Linked DNA regions of Homo sapiens: regions 1 and 2 are each linked to region 3. The links are contacts of gene promoters, found by promoter capture Hi-C in human tissues and cell types (Jung and others, 2019). All regions are on one chromosome and are shown on one strand. The core of a region is centred on a gene start or on the middle of the fragment in contact, and the rest is flanking DNA. Distances in the headings are between cores, read along the strand shown.

Region 1 (2,700 bases), core at 110-2,609, 130 kb before region 3:
TTAAACAAAAACCAAGAAAAGGCTAGAAAAAAAGGCGCTTCAAAACAAATTGTAAACACGGCAGTTGACCCAAATCGGGATGAGAGAAATCCATGAAGTGATGGAAATGTAAAGAGGCCAACATTTGAATATGAAATTTGAACTGGAACCAGCTATACAAAGTCAAGATTTTTAAAACATGTTTTCTCCTGGAGCTGGTTACTGAAGGGCCTGGAGGCAGTGGCCACTCAGGGTCCCTGAGCACACCAGCATCCATGCATTGGTGTTTACACACCACCACCAAGGATCAGAGTTCCTTGGAAAAACAGTTCATCTTCACTCTGGACGATGTGGATGTATAATACAAGGTGAGCTGGGGTACCTCACTGTGCCAGATTGGAAGAAAGACTCAAAAACTAAAAGAACAAAGGCACCTGCTTCCAGGGCTCCCATAGACTGAATTTGAGCATCAGGAAGAACAAAAATGATTCTGTAATACACTGAGTTTTTAAAAATATCATCAGCCATCAATGATTCTCAAAAGCAGAGGAGGCTTTTCTTTTCAGTAGAAATGGCAAAATTAGAAAATTGTCATTTTGCAACCTGCCATAAAATTCCTGATTCAGGCAAGACTCACTGGATGCGAAAACCACTGAGCAGAAGGCTGTTTGGGGAACAAGATAGATACAGAATGTCCAAGTATCGTCCTACAGATTTCATACTCAGGACAGGCAGAAATACAACATGGCTTTTCAGAGGAGTGGGAGAAGGGGGCAGCCACCACTTTCACCAGGTGGTCGGATTTAGCATCTCTGACACAGTGGGACCACTGACCCCTACGTGTGATGCAGCCAGACGTGCACAGCTTCTCCAATAAGTCTTCTGGCCACAGACGCAGAGACATCCAGTCTGACAGCAAACACAAGGGCAGAGAAAGACAGTAAGGGAGACAGTAAGAAACATCACCGGAGGGAACAGTCACACTAATTCAAAGGTGCGACATTCTGGAAGATAACTAGCTTTTCCTCTTCTAACAGTTAATGTCACAAAGGTAAGAACAAAAAGGAAGGGCTATTTTAGATTAAAGAGTCTAAGCAGTTATAACAAGCAGATCCAGGTTTGCAGAGAGAGAAGCTATTAAACACATTCTGAAGAGAACTGGAGAAAGGTGAATATCAAGTAACCATTAGACGATATCATGGGACTGCTGTTAATTTTGTTCCATGTAAGAATGGTGCTGCCATTATGGAGAATGACAGTTTTTCTTAGAGGAGATGGATGCTCACATATTTGGGGCAGGGGCATGTCATGATGTCAACAACTTATTTTCAAACTGTTCAGCAACACTTTTTTTTTTTTTCAAGACGGAATCTTGCTCTCTCGCCCAGGCTGGAGTGACATGATCTCGGCCCACTGCAACCTCCACCTCCTAGGTTCAAGCAATTCTCCTGCCTCAGCCTCCCAAGTAGCTGGGATTGCCGGCGCATGCCACCACGCCAGCTGATTTTTTTTTTTCAAACTCCTGACCTCATGATCCACCTGCCTCAGCCTCCCCAAGTGCTGGGATTACAGGCATGAGCCACCGTGCCCAGCCTCAGCAACAAATTTTTATAAAATATGGATTTAAGGAGCAGAGAGGAAGTGGGGGCAAGAAACAGCATACTATCAACAACCGCTGAATCTGGGTGGAGAGTTTATGTGTGTGTTTGCAGTATTATCTTTCAACTTTTGTGCATATTTGAAAACTCTCATAATGAAAAGACGGGAAGGAATAAGGAGGCCCACATTCCCAAGGTGACAATGAATAAACAGGATTACATTTAGTTAGGCTGGGGCGTCAGGGAAGGTGCCCCCAGAGCTCCAAATGCCCAAGGCATCTCAATCTCCTAAATTTCTCTGAAATACACAATCTCTGCCGGATTCACCAGCGGTTCCTCTAAGATCCTTGCAGTTTGTTGCTGTTCTTCCATGCCTGTGCTCAGAGTCAGCCTGCTTCTACCTCCACTAGCAGAGCTCAGAGAAAACAGGCTTTTCACAATGAGCTGGTGCTTCACAGCAGTGTGTCTAAGTCGATGGGCAGAGAAAATAAGAATTTCATGTGCCGACGATAGAATCTGCCAGACTTTCTCTACTTCACAGTTCCCAGGTAATCATCACGACCAGGCCACCTTCCCAGAGAGACACCATTACCGGCATCTTACAGATAAAGGATGGGCCTCAGGCAGGTAAACAAATGCTCAGAGCCACAAGGAAATGATGAAGCTGGGCATTACATCCAAGCCCCTTGGATTACATGCCTGTGGGGTTCCCCCAGCCAAACTCACTGTGCTTCCTGCTAGAGGGGCCTCTCCACTCAGGGTGTGGCCTTTTGGGACTGCAGCATCAGCATCCCCTGGCACTTCATGTTCCCAGTGAAGTGGGCACTAAACCTCACTAACAGGTAGGAATGTGCACACGCCGGGGGCAGGGCATCCCCTCTGCAGGACACAGTGCATTCAACAGGTCTACTTCATAGTGGCAAACACAGGAAGAAAAGCGAAAGGGAGAAAAATTTCAAAAGCACTCACCAAAAATGTAGTAGGAAACAGAGGACGATGAAATGCAACCAAATCCCAATGTTTCAACGCACACCAAAAATGTTCCCAGCAGGCACATCTGGGAGTGCCCGGGAACTCCCCCACCCGAGGCAGCTGTCCTCTGGCCCTGGTATGCAACACCCCC
Region 2 (2,700 bases), core at 136-2,635, 130 kb after region 3:
ATTCCTGGACTACAGCCACATCTCAGAGCTACCCTTTTATCCAATTCCAAACCTCCCTCGCAACCTCTCCTTTCATCTCCCCACCTTAACCCTAAAGTATGGGATACCTCCACTCCTTCGCCTGCAACTGATCATTCACCCCTTATCATCCCATTGAAACATGGCCACCCTTATCCTGCTCAATGCCAATACCCCATCCCACAACAGACTTTAAGGGGCCTAAAGCCTGTTATTACCTGTCTACTACAGCATGGCCTCTTAGTCCCTACCAACTCCCCTTACAACTCTCCCATCCTACCTATTCAAAAACCAGATAAATCCTACAGGCTAGTCCAAGACCTTCGTTTCATCAATCAGATTGTCCTCCCCATTCATCCTGTCATGCCTAACCCTTATACTCTCCTATCCTCAATACCGCCTTCCACAACTCATTATTCTGTTATTGACCTCAAAGATGCCTTCTTTACCATCCCCTTACATCCCTCTTCCCAGCCCCTTTTTGCCTTTACTTGGACTGACCCTGACACCCACCAGTCCCAACAACTCACCTGGACCGTCCTGCCCTAAGGTTTCAGAGACAGCCCACACTACTTTAGCCAGGCCCTCTCCCGTGACCTGCTTTCTTTTCGTCCATTTGTTTCCCATCTCATTCAATATGTGGATGACCTTCTTCTTTGCAGCCCCTCTTACCAATCCTCCCAGCAAGACACTATCCTGCTTCTTCAACACCTCTACTCCAAGGGGTACAGAGTATCCCCCTCCAAAGCTCAAATTTCTACTTATCTTGGTATAATCCTCCACCAACATAGGTGTGCACTTCCAGCAGACCGTATTCAGCTAATCTCCAAATTCCAATCCCCACCACCAAACAACTACTCCTCTCCTTCTTAGACGTTGTTGGATACTTCTGCCTTTGGATACCAGGTTTTGCCATCCTAACCAAACCACTCTATAAACTCACAAAAGGAAACTTAGCTGAACCCACAGATCCTAAATCCTTCCCTCGCCCCTCCTTTTACTCTAAAAAAGGCCCTAGAGGCAACCCCTACTCAAGCGCTTCCCGACTCCTCCCAACCCTCCTTCCTCTCCACACAGCAAAAACGCAGGGCTGCGCTGTAGGAATTCTTACTCAGGAACCAGGCCTGTGACCAGTAGCCTTTGTATTCAAACAGCTTAATCTTACAGTCCTGGGCTGGCCGTCATGCCTGCATGCCACAGCAGCCACAGCCCTTATACTCTTAGAGTCTCTCAAAATCACAGGCTATGCCCCACTCACCTTTTATAGCACTCACAACCTCCAAGACTTAGTTTCCTCTTCACATATAAAACATACTCTCGGCTCCCCACCTCCTCCAGCTCTATTCACTCTTTATTGAAAATCTCATGGGGACCATTGCCTTTGGACAGGACTTCAACCCGGCCTCTCACTTACTACCCACTACAAATCCTAATCCACACAACTGTATTTCCTTAATCCACATAGCCTCCTCTCCTTTTCCCCATATTTCCCTTTTTCCTGTCCCTGACCCAGACCACACTTGGTTTATTGATGGCAGTTCTTCAAAAACCAGTTGATTAACACCAGGAAAAGCTGGATAGGCCATTGTGTCTCACTCATCTATCACTGAAACTGCTGCACTCTCCCCATTTACAACCTCTCAACAAGCTGAATTAATAGCACTAACTCATGCCCTAACTCTTGGCAAAGGACTGCATGTTAATATCTAATTGACTCTAAATACGCCCTTCACATCCTCCACCGCCACCCTGTCAACTGGGCAGAAAGAGGTTTTCTCACTACACAAGGATCCTCTATTATCAATGCCCCCTTAATAAAGCCCTCCTTAAAGCTGCCCTCCTTCCAGCCAAAGCCAGAGTAATCCACTGCAAAGGACACCAAAAAACCTCTGATCCCATTGCCCAAGGAAACACCTATGCCAATAAAACAGCCAAAGAAACAGCAAACTCCCCAGTATCTGCTCCCAGTGGCCAATATTTCTCCTTCTCATCTATCACTCCTATTACTCTCCTTCTGAAACCTTAAACTACCAGTCACTTCCCACTCAAGGCAACTGGTTTTTAGATCATGGAAAGCTCCTTCTCCCTGCCTCTCAAGCTTACTCTATCCTCTCCTCCTTTGATGACCACTTCCATGTAGGATATAAATCTTTAACCCACCTTTTAGAACCTCTCATTTCTTTTCCAGCCTGGAAATCCATCCTCAAAACAATCACCTCTCAATGGGCTATAATGCCACTCTACTACCCCATCAAGGCTTTCTTAAACCTCCTCCTTTCCTTATGCATCAAGCACGACAATTTATCCCTGCTCAAGATTGGCAAATTGACTCTACTCTTATGCCCCGTGTCTGGAAACTCAAATACCTCCTGGTTTGGGTCGACACCTTCATCAGATGGGTTGAGGCTTTTCCCACGGGGTCTGAAGGCTGAAAAGGCCACTGCAGTTATTTCCTTCTTCTAACAGACATAATTCCCCGGTTTGGTCTCCCTACTTCCATACAGTCTGATAATGGGCTGGTCTTCATCAGCCAAATCACTCAAGCAGTTTCCCAAGCCCTCGGTATTCAATGGAATCTTCATGCCCCATATCACCCTCAGTTCTCTGGAAAAGTAGAAAAAGCCAAGGACCTTTTAAAAACACACCTTACTAAACTTACCCTCCAGCTTAAAAAAGACTGGA
Region 3 (2,700 bases), core at 53-2,552:
TAACGCCGCCTCCTCCAGGCAACCTAGGCAGGTCCCAAGCTGCACTTCCGAACCTCCCCGCCGTTCCTCTGCGCCCCGGATCCAAGCAGCCGAAACCGCGCAGGGACTCGGGGGAAGTGGGGCCCCGGGAGGAAACCCACCTAGGAGCCGGGCCCCGCCCCTCCCGCCGCCAGCCTCCTACAGGTCCCGGGGGTCCCCCCGGCGCGGCCAGAAGGCGGCCGCGCCCCAGCCGCTCAGGGACCCGCGATCCCAGTCACAAACCATTTCAATCCAGATCACACACCACTTCGGCCACCCCAGAGCGGTGGGGGAGAGGAGGTTTCAGGGACCAACAAAAGGGATGCCAAAGAGCCCGTTTCCATCAAGCGGCCCGCGGGCTGGGAAAGTCAGGACCCGGGAGCCGCCGGCGCCCCCACCCCCGCCGCAAGAGCCGCTTCTCCGGGGCCACGTCCACCCCAGGATTCTGCCAGGCATCAGGCCGCCCTGGGGGTGGGGGGACGCTCCGAGACAGACGGGGGACACTCGGGGCCGTGTGCCCTTGAAGGAGGAAGACCTCGGGGAGGAAGCCCGGGTCCTGGGACCCTCGGGGCACATCTGCGGACTCGGGTCCCGGGCCCAGGGCGGGTACTCACATTCACACTCGCACTCCCACTCGCGACCCTCGGGAAGCGCCACCGAGAGGCTCCCAGCCGCCGCCGCCCGCCCCCAGACTCTGGAAACACTTAGGCGTCCCCAGAGCGCGGCTTATTGTAACCAGCCCGAGGGGGTCCGGGGTGCGGGCCGGGAGCGGCGTCGGGCGAGATGCGAATGGCCCTGCCTGGCGCCCCTCGTTCAGGAGCATGGGCGCCGGCGCAGCGGCCGGGAGCATAGTGGCGGCGGAAGGGCTGGCCAAGCGAGCCGTGAGCTACCGTCTGCGCACAAGCCGGAACGCCAGATCCTACCTGAAGTCCGGGACACTGAGAGCAGAAGCGCGGCGGCCGCCCAGACGGCCGGGATGCACAGCAGCGGCCGCCGCGGGAGCGCCGAGCCCCGGGCCATGCCGCAGGCAGTGGGGGCCGGGAAGCCCTCAGAGCTTCGGGCCGGGGCGCGGGGTCGGGCGCCACCACCCCTTTCTACGATGCGTCCGCTCCTCCTTCTCCCTGGCGCTTCGCAAACGGGTCCACTTCGAGGACCTCGTCGTCGTCCTCTTCTCCGGCCCGGATGCGCCGCTCGGCTCCGGCCACGGCAAGGGCTGGCTGGGGAGGTTCCTTGGCGCGGGCTGGGGCGTCCCGCCGGCCGCCAGGACGAGCGCGGGGGGCGGACCGCGGGCGAGCGCGCAGGAGGCAGGGTCCCCGCTCGCCCGCCCCGATGGGCAGAGCGAGGCTTGCGCCGGCGCCCCCTGCCGGGGGAACGCGCGGGCGGCGGGCGGGACCCAAGGAGCTGGGGCTGCAGCTGGGGCCCCGGACCTGCCTCCTGCGCCCGCCCTCGGGCCTGCGCCTCGGAACGCTTGAACACAAAGGTGGCGCCTTGGGGGCGTCAGCCGGAGTTCGGCGGGTCTGCCCACGCAGGAGAGGCGCCCAGAGCGGGTGCCCCCGACTTTCGGGGGCGACACACCCGGGGATCTAGGTCACAAATCAGTAACTCCAGGCTGCACTGCGCACCGGGACAAATCTGAGAGCCACCCAGCCCCAGACACCAGCGGTGAGGCAGGAAGAGGAGAAGCGAAAGTTGCAAAAGGAAATGTTCAGGAAAACAAACAGGCCGCCTTGGCACCGGCGCCCTCCCAGGTCGGTGGGGACAAGCGCGTCCCCCGAAATGCTCAAAACTGCCAGGGGTCGAGCTGCGTGGAGGGAGCCCTCGGGAGCGCGATGCTATCCGAAGCCACCGCGGCTTTTGGTTTACTGTTAAAAGCAAATTGTATAATTTTACCCATTAAAGGCAGAACACTATTTGTTCTCTGCAGAGGCCCAGAATGTGCAGAATTTGCTTCACTTATTAGAGACATTTTGAACGGAATTCAAATAGCATGTTTTCTTGCTTATTCTTGGTTTTGCTCAGCACATGCAAATGTCTTTGTTTTTCCTCTTAGAGGAAGGAATTGGATTCTCCAGCATCTCAGTTGCTTGTTCCATGAGATTGATCTTTTAACTGATTATCCAGCAGTTTGTTTGGTGTTTTTGCTGGAGTACCAAGCTCTGTTAATTGGAGGGCATTAGGGAGAGCCCTGGCCTTGGGTGCCAGACGTGAGGCCTCAGACGTGGCCAGAAATAAAAACTCTCTTGCTATGGTCTGCGGACAAAATGACTAAGCCAGCTCTAGCTTGTTACCTCTGTTAAAAGTATTTAGGCGTCCGGCTATCTCTACCCAATTTGTGTAGGGAAATATCTCACGCAGTTCTCATTCCCAGGAGCTGCTGTAAATCCAGTAGGAGAATGGGAGAAGATCCTAGCCCCTCCTCAACTGGATGGCAAAATTATTACCAAACTTCTTAGACGGGCTCAGGCTGTTCCTCTGCCCAGGCTGGTGCGGGTCTGAACGGGGGGGCTGCTCTCCCCAGTGGTTAGAGGACTGCCAGGGGTTTATCTTTGGGGTTTTCCTCCCTTTAGCTTCCCTTAGAATCCTTAAGGATGCTTTTAGAGTAATGTTTTAAGAGTAGGTGCTGAAGCACTTAGTTCCACACCCCTCTCTTCTGGATCTAGGGAAAACCCAACAGGGGCTGCA

The links. The method cuts DNA at HindIII sites, captures the fragments that hold promoters and counts their contacts. A contact is called where the count stands out against the background at its distance.
Region 1: a contact is called between a fragment that was not itself captured here and the fragment with the promoter of ROR2 in region 3, in 4 of the 25 tissues and cell types used here (IMR-90 fibroblasts, heart left ventricle, lymphoblastoid cells and 1 more).
Region 2: a contact is called between a fragment that was not itself captured here and the fragment with the promoter of ROR2 in region 3, in 3 of the 25 tissues and cell types used here (IMR-90 fibroblasts, bladder and mesenchymal stem cells).

Annotation. Positions count from the first base shown.
Region 1 is chr9:91,822,013-91,824,712 of GRCh38, forward strand. The region is part of intron 1 of ROR2 (receptor tyrosine kinase like orphan receptor 2); the gene reads right to left. Among named protein-coding and RNA genes, the nearest start is that of ROR2, 130 kb to the right of the region's middle. The HindIII fragment of the contact is 4,420 bases long and covers 1-2,700 here.
Region 2 is chr9:92,074,414-92,077,113 of GRCh38, forward strand. The region is part of intron 5 of SPTLC1 (serine palmitoyltransferase long chain base subunit 1); the gene reads right to left. Among named protein-coding and RNA genes, the nearest start is that of SPTLC1, 40 kb to the right of the region's middle. The HindIII fragment of the contact is 3,187 bases long and covers 1-2,700 here.
Region 3 is chr9:91,948,926-91,951,625 of GRCh38, forward strand. ROR2 (receptor tyrosine kinase like orphan receptor 2) reads right to left here and starts at 1,303. Exons shown (of 9, transcript NM_004560.4): 1 at 942-1,303. The coding sequence starts at 1,038. RefSeq lists enhancers at 94-595, 596-1,095 and silencers at 1,289-1,468, 1,582-1,876. The HindIII fragment of the contact is 10,523 bases long and covers 1-2,700 here.